3 separate regions of the Homo sapiens genome follow, and all the other regions are linked to region 2. The links are contacts of gene promoters, found by promoter capture Hi-C in human tissues and cell types (Jung and others, 2019). All regions are on one chromosome and are shown on one strand. The core of a region is centred on a gene start or on the middle of the fragment in contact, and the rest is flanking DNA. Distances in the headings are between cores, read along the strand shown. Region 1 holds the start of CSTB (cystatin B). Region 2 holds the start of SUMO3 (small ubiquitin like modifier 3). Region 3 holds the start of PKNOX1 (PBX/knotted 1 homeobox 1).

Region 1 (2,700 bases), core at 1-2,500, 1.0 Mb after region 2:
TTCCAGCACTTTGGGAGCCCGAGGCAGGTGGATCACGAGGTCAGGAGTTCGAGACCAGCCTGGCCAATATGGTGAAACCCCGTCTCTACTAAAAACACAAAAATTAGCTGCGCATGAAGGCGCGCGCCTGTAGTCCCAGCTACTCGGGAGGCCGAGGCAGGAGAATGGTGTGAACCCCGGAGGCGGAGCTTGCAGTGAGCCGAGATTGCGCCACTGCACTCCAGCCTAGGCGACAGATCCAGACTCCGTCTCAAAAAAAAAAAAAAAAAGGCCGGGCGCAGTGGCTCACACCTGTAATCCCAGCACTTTGGGAGGCCAAGGCGGGTGGATCACAAGGTCAGGAGATCGAGACCATCCTGGCTAACACAGTGAAACCCCGTCTCTACTAAAAATACAAAAATTAGCCAGGTGTGGTGGCGGGCGCCTGTAGTCCCAGCTACTCGGGAGGCTGAGGCAGGAGAATGGCGTGAACCCGGGAGGCGGAGCCTGCAGTAAGCCGAGATCGCGCCACTGCACTCCAGCCTGGGAGACAGAGCGAGACTCCGTCTCAAAAAAAAAAAAAAAAAAAAAAAAAGAAAAGAAAAGGAAAGAAAGAAAAGAAATCCTAAAACGCAAATTCCACCAGAGAACCCTGCCTTCTTCTCATCCCTCTGATCTACCCCCTGCCCCCACCCAGCCTGGAGCGCGTGGGCGCCGTCTCCCCCTCCCTGGGCCCCTCTGTCCACCCCCTTCAGCCTTCAGTGTTCTCGGTCACAAGCGGTGATGTCCACTGCAGCCCGCACACCTGCTCCCGCGGGGCCGGGACCCCTGACCCCTGACCCCTGCAGCGCTGCGCCCCGCCCTCCCTCGTGCGCGGCCCGGACCCCGCCACCCTGCAGGATTGCGCCTACTCCGACTGCCCCTTCCCTATCGTCCCACCCTGCGCGCCCAACCCACCGGCGACACCCGGCCGCGCCCCCGCCCCGGTCCGTGTGACTCGGCGCCCGGAAAGACGATACCAGCCCCGGGAGGGGGGCGCTCCCTCCCGACACCAGCGCTGGGCGCGGAGACCCAGCCTGCGGCGAGTGGTGGCCAGGTTCCCCGCCCCGCGCCCCGCCCCGCGCCCCGCCCCGCGCGTCCCTTCTTGCGGGGCCACCGCGACCCCGCAGGGGACTCCGAAGCCAAAGTGCCTCCTCCCCGCCCCTTGGTTCCGCCCGCGCGTCACGTGACCCCAGCGCCTACTTGGGCTGAGGAGCCGCCGCGTCCCCTCGCCGAGTCCCCTCGCCAGATTCCCTCCGTCGCCGCCAAGATGATGTGCGGGGCGCCCTCCGCCACGCAGCCGGCCACCGCCGAGACCCAGCACATCGCCGACCAGGTGGGTGGGCCGCGGGGACGGGGCCGGCCCGGAGTCCTGCCTTAGCCTCAGGGCGCGGCCGCGGCTCCTGGAGCGAAAGAAGCCGCTTTGGCCCCGCTGCGCACCCCTGGGCTGGCCCGGGCTGTGGCCGTGAGAGGCCTCCCTCCGCTCGGGCGCTGCGCGCGAGTGAGCAGCGGGGGGCCGCGCCTGGGGCGCCGCTGGGGAGACATTGGGCTCCGCTGAATACAGCAAGGGCGAGTGGGAATTGATAGCCCGGAGCAGGGTGCGGTCCCTGCATGGACAGTCTCTGAGAGGAAACCCCAGGGATGAGGCGCTTCTGGTTTCAGGCAGGCAGGGTGATCGGGCGTCGCCGGCGATGGCGCAGGTGAGCAGCCGGCTCCGATCTCCACGGTGATCCGATAGCAAGCGGGTGGGAAGGGTCTGGCTAAACTGACTTAGCCAGGCTTCTTGCTAAAAGTGGATTTTACAAGGAAGTGCGCAGGTGGCCTAGGCGCTTCAGGAGCCCGACTACAGTTTGGCCAAGCAAGAATCTTTGTCAATATCCTCATCTAGTTCGGGAAAAAAATCATGAGAGAGAGTGCAAGAGGTCCCCAGTGATAAGGCACATGGGTTAAAAACTTAAGTGTATCTGCATAAAAGGTCCACAGGTTTCTTTACATGCTTCCGATTCTAGCACTGTTTCAAACTGTAAGTCTAAATAAAAAGTTAAAACACAGAAAAACAAGATAAAAACCGGGCTGGGTTGCAGATGGCAACCTTCCCTGTGTCTCGGTTTCCTCGTCTGTAAAATGGACGTCCTGTTGCTCTGCGCCTGCCAGAAGATTCTGGAGGGGCTGAAATGAGCAGGTCATCTGTGCAAGAAGCCCCCTCCGGTGGAGCACAGGCCAGGCCCGCCTCGCTGTCATGGTTGGTGACCGACGGGATGCCCCAAGCAAGAACAGGTCCAGGCGATGCTGAGGCCTGTGTTTTTTTTTTTTGTTTTTGAGACTCAGTCTCACTCTTGCCCAGGGTGGAGTGCAGTGGCACAATCTCGGCCCACTGCAACCTCCGCTTCCCAGGTTCAAGGGATTCTCCTGCCTTAGCCTCCCGAGTAGCTGGGATTGCAGGTGCTCGCCACCACGCCCAGCTAATTTTTGTATTTTTAGTAGAAACGGGGTTTTGCCATTTGGCTAGGCTGGTCTCAAACTCCTGACCTCAAGTGATCCGCCCACCTCAGCCTCCCAAAGTTCTGGGATTACATCCTTGAGCCACCGTACCCAGCTGGAACTGTTTTTTTCTACTTTATTATTAGGCTGACAGTTTAAATGTCCCTTCAGTTGTAAGAGACAATTGTGTGAAGAGCCAGT
Region 2 (3,772 bases), core at 894-3,393:
TCATGGGAGAGTCCTGTGACTTTGTCTCGCAGTTCTTTGCGTCCTCAGCCAGGACCCCTCTCCTAGTCACATGTGGGTCGAGCTTTCATGTCAGCAATGCTGTTACTCATTTGCCAGTTCCCTGCCTTCTCATGAGTCTTCTTGTTGGGACCATCGCCAGGTGTGGCGACCCTCCGGAGGGGCTCTGGCCATTTGGGTTCTTTACCCTGTGCTCGTGGTAGGCCACGGTTTTTCCTGAGCTCTGGTTCCTCCGTCCATTCGATCCCCTTTGGCTGTGTCCTTCAGAAACCTCTTGGCGTTCGGTCCACCAGCGGTGTCCTTTGTGTCCCCACAGCTGCGACAGAGCCTTTTTGCATCTTTGCTGTCACATGAAGGATTCGGGGCAGGTCACAGTGTGGGAGACAGACACAGCATGAATTGAATTCAGACCACCATTGTCTTATAGCCTGGCTTTTTAAAACCTAATGTCATCTGAGCCTCTTTTTCCCTTATCCATGACTGTAGTCACGCATCACTTCGTGACACAGCAACTGGCGTAATTTCGAGCGGTAACACATTTGGGTTCTGTGTCTCATGATTTCTAAGCTGCGTGTTTCTCACTTCCACAACACTGAAGCGGGCTGCCGTCATCCACAGCCTGCCGGAGTTTAGTGTGTCTGTGCTACCTACGGTCGTGTTGTTTTATGATTAACGGTGTCTTGGAGTCGATAACTCTCTGAACCCTGCCTGCCCTAGGGCACTTCCAGGGCCAGCAATCTGTGGGCTCTGAGGCGCCACGTCCCCTCGGAAGGGGCTGGTTGCGGAGCCCCCTCCCAGGACCGTCTGAGCTGGCCACCCACCTCCACATCCTCTGCTGAGGCCCTGGGCTCCAGGTTCCAGAAGGAAGGGACCACACCTTATGACCTGCCTGGGACTGGGGCTGACTCTCAGACCCTCTCCCCGAAAGACTTCAGCAGCCTTCCCCCTCCTAAGTGGGGGCTCTAGCCAAGAAAGTGAATTTTTGAGTAGAAGACGGTTTGTGAAGTTATGGTCCATGAAGACTTGTCTCCATGGCTTTGCGACGTTGCTCAGTTGGCTGAGCCTTTCCCAGGCAGGACAGAAACGGCTCAGACGCTTAGGTTCAAATCCAGGCCCTGCCATTTCCCAGCTGAGCCTGAAGTGCGGCCTCCCCCGCCTTCGGCCGGGCTCACCATCAGATGAGACCTCCGCCACGCCCCGGCTGGCACCACCCGGGCACTCCTGAGGGACGCAGGGGTGTCCGCCCTCAGGTCCGTTCCATCCGAGGCCCTGGGATCACAGACATGGAGGCCGGGGCGGGCCAGGCACCCCAGGAATGGCGCCCGCAAGTCCGGGGAGGCCGTCCTGCCGGCCCAGCGCGTTTCCCGCGTCCACGAGGTCCCCGTTCCGCCGGCACTGGCGGCGTCCAGCCTGGGTTTGCCCGCGCTCGCCGACGTGGCGGCCTGGCCAAGCTCGGCGCCGCTCACCAGCGCTGACCTGGGGGTGGTTTGACCTCCCAGTGCCTCAGTTTCTTCACAGGTAAAACGGGTCTTCTTGAGGACGGGTGTGGAGGGCCCGGGGCAGCCCCGTAGGAGCGTTGGCCAAAGGAGCCCGGCCTGGGGCTGACAGGAAACCGCGGCGGCAGGGAGGCGGGTGGCGCCCCCAATCGTCTAGGGTGCTGGCCCGATTCGCGCGGCCCCCGCGGACGGGACCCCGCGGGCCGCCTTCTCCGCTCTGTCCGCGGCTCCTGAGAGGGAACGTCACCCCCAGCGTCCTCCCTCCTCCGCCCCAGGTCCCTGCGGCCATGGGCGGCGGCCCCGGCCTCACTTCCCGGCGCCCCAGGAACGCGGCCCCCAGGAAAGGAGTCGGGGCCCGGGCGACGCGGGGAGGCGGGCAAGGGTCCCCAGGGCCCGGGCTCCCCGTAAACGCTCCTGGCCCGCGCCCCACAGCGCCCTAGGGCTTCCGCGCCCGACGGGGTCGCGCGGGACCCGCCCCGTGACGCATCTCCAACCGCCCAGAGCCGCGGCCCGGCCTGCGCGCGCCCGACGCCCCGGGGAGCGCGCCTCGTGAACGCGCGCAGCCACGTGACCCCCGTGCCGGCCAACGGGTGCGCCGGGATTTGGGGGATAAAGCGCGGCCCCGCGCACAGTTGCGGCGGGAGAGCGGCGGGGCCGAGAGCGTGACTCGCCCGCTCCGCGCTGCTTCCCCCGCGCCGCCTCCCCGCGCCGCTCGCGCAGCCATGTCCGAGGAGAAGCCCAAGGTAAGCGCGGCGACCCCGCCTGCACGCGCGTCTATCGCGGGCGTCCCGCCCCCAGCCCGGCTCCGCCCCCACCCCGACTCCGCCCCGCGTCCCGCCCCTGACAGGCTCCGCCCCTCCCCGCCCTCTAGAGCCCCGCCCCTAAGTGGGCCCGCCCAAGGTGCGCCCCCTCTGCCCCCGCGAAGCGCGCTGTGCCGCGAGCTCCGCCCCCTCCGGGCCTGGCCACGCCTCCGCTCCACGCCCGTCTCCTCCCCAGCTGGGAAGGCGCGCGCCCAGCGCCTCCTTGAGCGCCCGGTGTCGGGCCCCGCGCTGCTGCTCCTGCAGAGCGCGGCGCCCTCGGATCCCGCCCCAGCAGTGTCCCCGAAGCGTCTTTGCGTGCTCCTCTCCTGAGTCATTGCTGGTTGGGGTCGCCCTCTCCCCCGGCATCGCCCTGGGTGCGGGATCCTGTGTCGAGTGCACGGAGTCGGCTCGGGAACAAGCGTCTGGGGTTACCCCCAAGGGGCGCGCTCTGAGGGGCCTGGCCCCTGTGAGCAGCACTGCCGTCCTTCCAGGGCGCCCATCGCGACCCCGGTATTCACCCACTTCTCCGCATCGTGTCCCGGCCATCGCGTCCCCCAGTGTGCGCCCACCCCTCTCCTTCGTGTCTCCCCAATCGTGCCCTCAGTGTGCACCTACTCCCACCCATCGCGCCCCGTGTGCACCCACCGCCTCCATCGCGTCCCCCGGTGTGCGCCCACCCCTCCCCATCGCGCCCCCCGGTGTACGCCCACGCCTCCCCATCACGCCCCCCATGGTGTGTACCCACTCCTCCCCATCATGCCACCTGGTGTGCGCCCACCCGTCCCCATCATCGCGTCCCTGGTGTGCGCCCACCCCTCCCTATTGCGTCGCCCTCTCCATCACACCCCCAGTGTGTGCTCACCCCTCCCCGTCGCGTCCCCCAGTGTGCGCCCACCCCTATCCATCGCGTCCCCCTTTCCATCACACCCCCAGTGTGCGTCCACCCCTCCCCATCACCCCCTCCACGATGTGCGCCCACCCCTCCCCATCACGCCCCCTATAGTGTGTGCCCACCCCTCCCTATCACGCCCCACGGTGTGCGCCCACTTCTCTGCATTGCGCCTCCCCCACCATGCGCGCCCACCCCTCCTTATCCAGCCTTGGGTGGGCTTTAGTCTCCCCCATTGCCATGCTGGGGTGTGCCTCCCTCCAGTCTCAGTCCTGGGGTATGCACCCTGCATTCAGGTGCACTGGCCATTCCTTCTCGGGAGGGTCTGTAGTCGCATTCTCCAGTGTTCATAAAAAGAGAACCTTTCCGAAGCCCTTGGTGTGCACTGTCGGCCTCTATGTTACATCCCAGTGGAAGATGACTAGAGCTGAAGGCTCTGTAAAGAGGCTGTCTCTGATACTGGCCTGGTCCTGGAGGTGACCACCCTCCCTTTACAGATGAGGGTGGAGGCTCAGTGCCAGACACTGGCGGGAAGTGGGATGGAACCGTCAGGAACCATGGTCGCGGCC
Region 3 (3,654 bases), core at 908-3,407, 1.8 Mb after region 2:
GGAAGGAACTGCAGATGTGGTGGAAATAATGAACAGTTGCTTCTTACGGATGAGCAAAGAAAGTGGTTTCTTGAAATGGAATTTATTCCTAGTGAAGACGCTGTGCACATTGTGGAAATGACAACAAAACATTTGGAATATCACATCAACTTAGTGGATAGCAGTGGCAGAGTTTGAGAATAGCCTCCAACTTTGAAAGAATTTTCACTGTGGTTAAAATGCTATCAAAACAGCATCACATGCTACAAAGAAGTCTTTCATGAAAGGAGGAGTCCATCAATGCAGTAAATTTCACTGTTGTCTTATTTTAAGTAACTGACACAGCCACCACCACCCTGATCAGTCAGCAGCCATCCACACTGAGGCCAGATTGTCAAAGTATAAAACAAGCAGGACTCACTAAAGGCTCAGATGATCATTAGTATTTTTAGCACTAAAATATTTTTTAATTAACGTAAGCACATTTTTATAGATATAATGCTTGCTATTGCACACTTTAAGTAGTATACTGTAATTACAACTTTCATATGCACTGAAAAACCTAAAACTGTTGCGTCACTTGCTTTACTGCAATACTTATTTTACTGCGGTGGTCTGGATTAGAACTCGAATTATCTGAGGTACGCCTGTGTACAAGGACAGGATTCACAAATCACTCTAAGTAAATTAAGCAGAGTGATGAAAGGCTCATTGGGGTCAGCCTGCCATCTTCCAAATTATGACTAAATGCAAGAGCATCACCAATAACTATACTGGCAGAGGTTCACATTTCACCTCGATTCTTCCTTATGTTTAGAGAAAGCCTATTTTTCAGTATGCCAGGAAAAATCATGAAAGTAGACCTAACTAAAGCTGGGGGTTTCTTTCATCCTGAAGAGGAACCACTTCCTAAGGAAAAATCATCTACTGTTTTAAAAAGCAAACTCTCGTAGAGTTGGAAGAGAACCCCACACACAGGTGGAACACCCCCCAGGGCTGCGGCCCCGCCGTGGCGCTCAGCCTGGCCTGCCCTGGGCCCGACCTCAGGACGCCGCCATTCCCGGACCCTCGGGCCTCCCGTCAGGAATCCGCCATCGGAACGGAGGCCCTAACTGGTCCCGTCGCAGAGCCACTGTCCAAATAAGGCATTTCGAGAGCCACGAGGATGACATAAAGCAGACTCCGCGTTTCTTCATTTTTCGTTAAGTGACACGATTTCCCTCACAAGGAAGGTGCAAACCCACAGGGCGCCCAGACCCTGCCCGGCACTTCCTGTCATCCATTACCACGACCCGTGTGACAGAAGCGGCTCTTCCCACCAATTCCCGGGACGCCGGAACCGCTTCCCCAGCACCCGGCCCCAAACACTGCCGTCAGCGAGCGGCCCTGGGCTGCTCCCGCGCCGGCGCCCGGCTGAGGGCCACGAGCCCCATCACGCCCACCGCCCCCAGGACCCCGACCCACCCGCTCGCCACGGCCGAGGCCGGGGCCGGGGTCGCGGCCGCCATCTTCCCGCCTGCGCCGCCGCGCGCCCCGCACCCTCCGAGCAGCCCCGCCGGCCCTGAGGACTCCGCGAGGCCGCGGACCCGACCGGCCCCACGCGCGCCGCCCGCCCCGGCCCCGCCCCGCCGCGCGCCCCCGACCCTCACGCCCGCCGCCCCGCCCGCGCCGGGCTCCGCGCGCCCCCGCCCCGCGCCGGGGCGCGCGCCGCACTCCGAAAGGGACGGTTAGGAGCGCGCGCTTCGATCAGGCCCAGCGCGGCGGCGGCGGCGCCTTCCAGAAATTTCCGCGTCCCTCAACCCACACTAAGAAACCAACTGGGCGCGCCCCCGCGCCGGTTGGGCTGAAGGCGCCCCCTCCCCCGCGGGTGCCCGCTCCCCTCCCCCACCCGCGCCCCCTCCCCGCCCCCTGCCCCGGGCGGCGGGTCAAATGCGGGCCCTCGAGGGCAGCGCCGGCCCTCCAGACCCGGGCGGCAGCGGCGGCGGCGGGCGGCGGCCGCGGGCCGGTGTGATTGATAGGGACGGCGGCGGCGAGAGCGGCGGCGGCGGCGGCGGAGCGGTTGAGTGACAGCTTACCTGGGTGCCAATCTTCATCACACTGACAAGCGGCTGCAGCAATCGGGACCCGCAGTGCCGCGCCCGCGTCCAACCGTCACGCCGACGCTGGGCCACGCGACACAGCCTCGCTCAATGGGAGGAGGGCGACGCCGACGCGCGCCGCATCAATATTCAGAGAGGGGGCGGGGCCTGCCGGAGACGGGCCCCGCCCCTCCCTGCGCGGCGGCGGGCGCGGGGCGGGGCCTGATCGCTGGGGGAGGAGAGCGAGGGCGGGAACCGGGCGGTGGCCGGCCCCGCCTCCAGCCCCGCCCGCACCCGGAGCTAGGCCGTGCCCCCAACCGGCCGCGCCCGAGCGCGAGGAGCTGTCTGCCCCGCCCCGAAGGCAGAGCCTCCCGCCTTATGACTATGCAGTAGGGGCGTGGCCTCAGCGCACGTCTTGCCCCCTCCGCGCCCTCGGTTGCCGCCCAGGAGAGGTGTGTGTAGCCGGGCGAAACCATTTGCCTCGAGCAGGCGGGGAGGGAGGGCTGTACCATCCGTAACCCCACCGCCGGGCGTCCCGTAGCCGAAGGCCTCCGTTCTGTGTGTGCCCGGTTTGAATGTAAGCCCGTGGGAGCCTCGCAGCCTTCCTCCCCAGGCTCTGGAGCCCGGGTGGGCCCGTCCTGGGCGGCACAGTGGATGCTCACGTGCCTCCCCCCCTGCGGCAGCGCGAGTGCTTAGCACCTGAGGCTTTACCCTGGGGGCTGTCTTCCCTCTGTGAGGACCCCAGCAAGGACTCATGATGTCCACAGGTGCTTAGGGGTGGCCTCTGGGCTACTTGGCCTCGCTTGACCACACCTTCCGGCCCAGGTGAGCCTTGCGGGTCTAGGTGACCAATGCGGCCTCCAGGTAAAGGGCACCTGCCTTAGGGGACGCCCACAAGTGTCTGCATTTCAAACTGCTTTGAAAGACCACCCTAACCGACCACTGCCACAATGTACCCACAAGTGCAGATGGTGGCTTTGGTCTCCAAGATGTAAGGAAAGGGCGACACATTCCCCACTGCGTAGGAAAGCACACGGTTTGCCTGACTGGCCTTCAATACTGCAGAAACATCCATTTATGCAGTGGCCCACCGAAGGCCATCAGTGCCTTGAGTCCATACACAGCGCGGGAAGGGCAGCTCTGTGGGCCCCCACTCCTCCCGGAAGGCAGACAGGCCCAGGACTGGAGCTGATTGCTAGAGGGAGCCTGGGGGTAGGTCTAGGCATGAACAGCTCGGAGGACATCCCTCCTGTGTCTTCAGAGCTCCACACCGCCAGGAGGTCTTGGCCAAGTGCTGTGCAGCTGCAGAGCCGCCTCTTTCAGAAAGATGGGAAGCAGCAGGGTGGGCAAGAGGGAGGCCCTGAGATACTTGCCCAAGGAGGGAAGTTCAAGGGGACAAAAAAAGCTCAGTATTCAAGACTGAGCATAATCTGCAGAGCCTAGTGCAAGATCCAGATGCAAGTGTCAATAGGTGTTGGAACAGAGAGACTCCACATGGGCTGGGTAAACTGAAGCTGAGACCTGCTGGGCCGCACCCCCCAGGAGTTAAGGCGTTCTTAGTAATCGGATGAGATAGGAGGTCGGAACAAGACACAGG

The links. Contacts are between HindIII fragments. The study calls those that stand out against the background at their distance.
Region 1: the fragment with the promoter of CSTB here is called in contact with the fragment with the promoter of SUMO3 in region 2 in 1 of the 25 tissues and cell types used here (dorsolateral prefrontal cortex).
Region 3: the fragment with the promoter of PKNOX1 here is called in contact with the fragment with the promoter of SUMO3 in region 2 in 1 of the 25 tissues and cell types used here (spleen).

Annotation. Positions count from the first base shown.
Region 1 is chr21:43,774,858-43,777,557 of GRCh38, reverse strand. It overlaps CSTB (cystatin B), which reads left to right and starts at 1,250. Exons shown (of 3, transcript NM_000100.4): 1 at 1,250-1,354. The coding sequence starts at 1,289. RefSeq lists a silencer at 672-1,671. The HindIII fragment of the contact is 5,981 bases long and covers 1-2,700 here.
Region 2 is chr21:44,816,433-44,820,204 of GRCh38, reverse strand. SUMO3 (small ubiquitin like modifier 3) reads left to right here and starts at 2,143. Exons shown (of 4, transcript NM_006936.3): 1 at 2,143-2,257. The coding sequence starts at 2,237. RefSeq lists silencers at 1,532-1,631, 1,652-2,231, 2,412-2,611. The HindIII fragment of the contact is 28,474 bases long and covers 1-3,772 here.
Region 3 is chr21:42,973,065-42,976,718 of GRCh38, reverse strand. It overlaps PKNOX1 (PBX/knotted 1 homeobox 1), which reads right to left and starts at 2,157. Exons shown (of 11, transcript NM_004571.5): 1 at 2,055-2,157. RefSeq lists an enhancer at 632-1,358 and silencers at 1,320-1,519, 1,660-1,979, 2,110-2,499, 2,810-2,969. The HindIII fragment of the contact is 23,812 bases long and covers 1-3,654 here.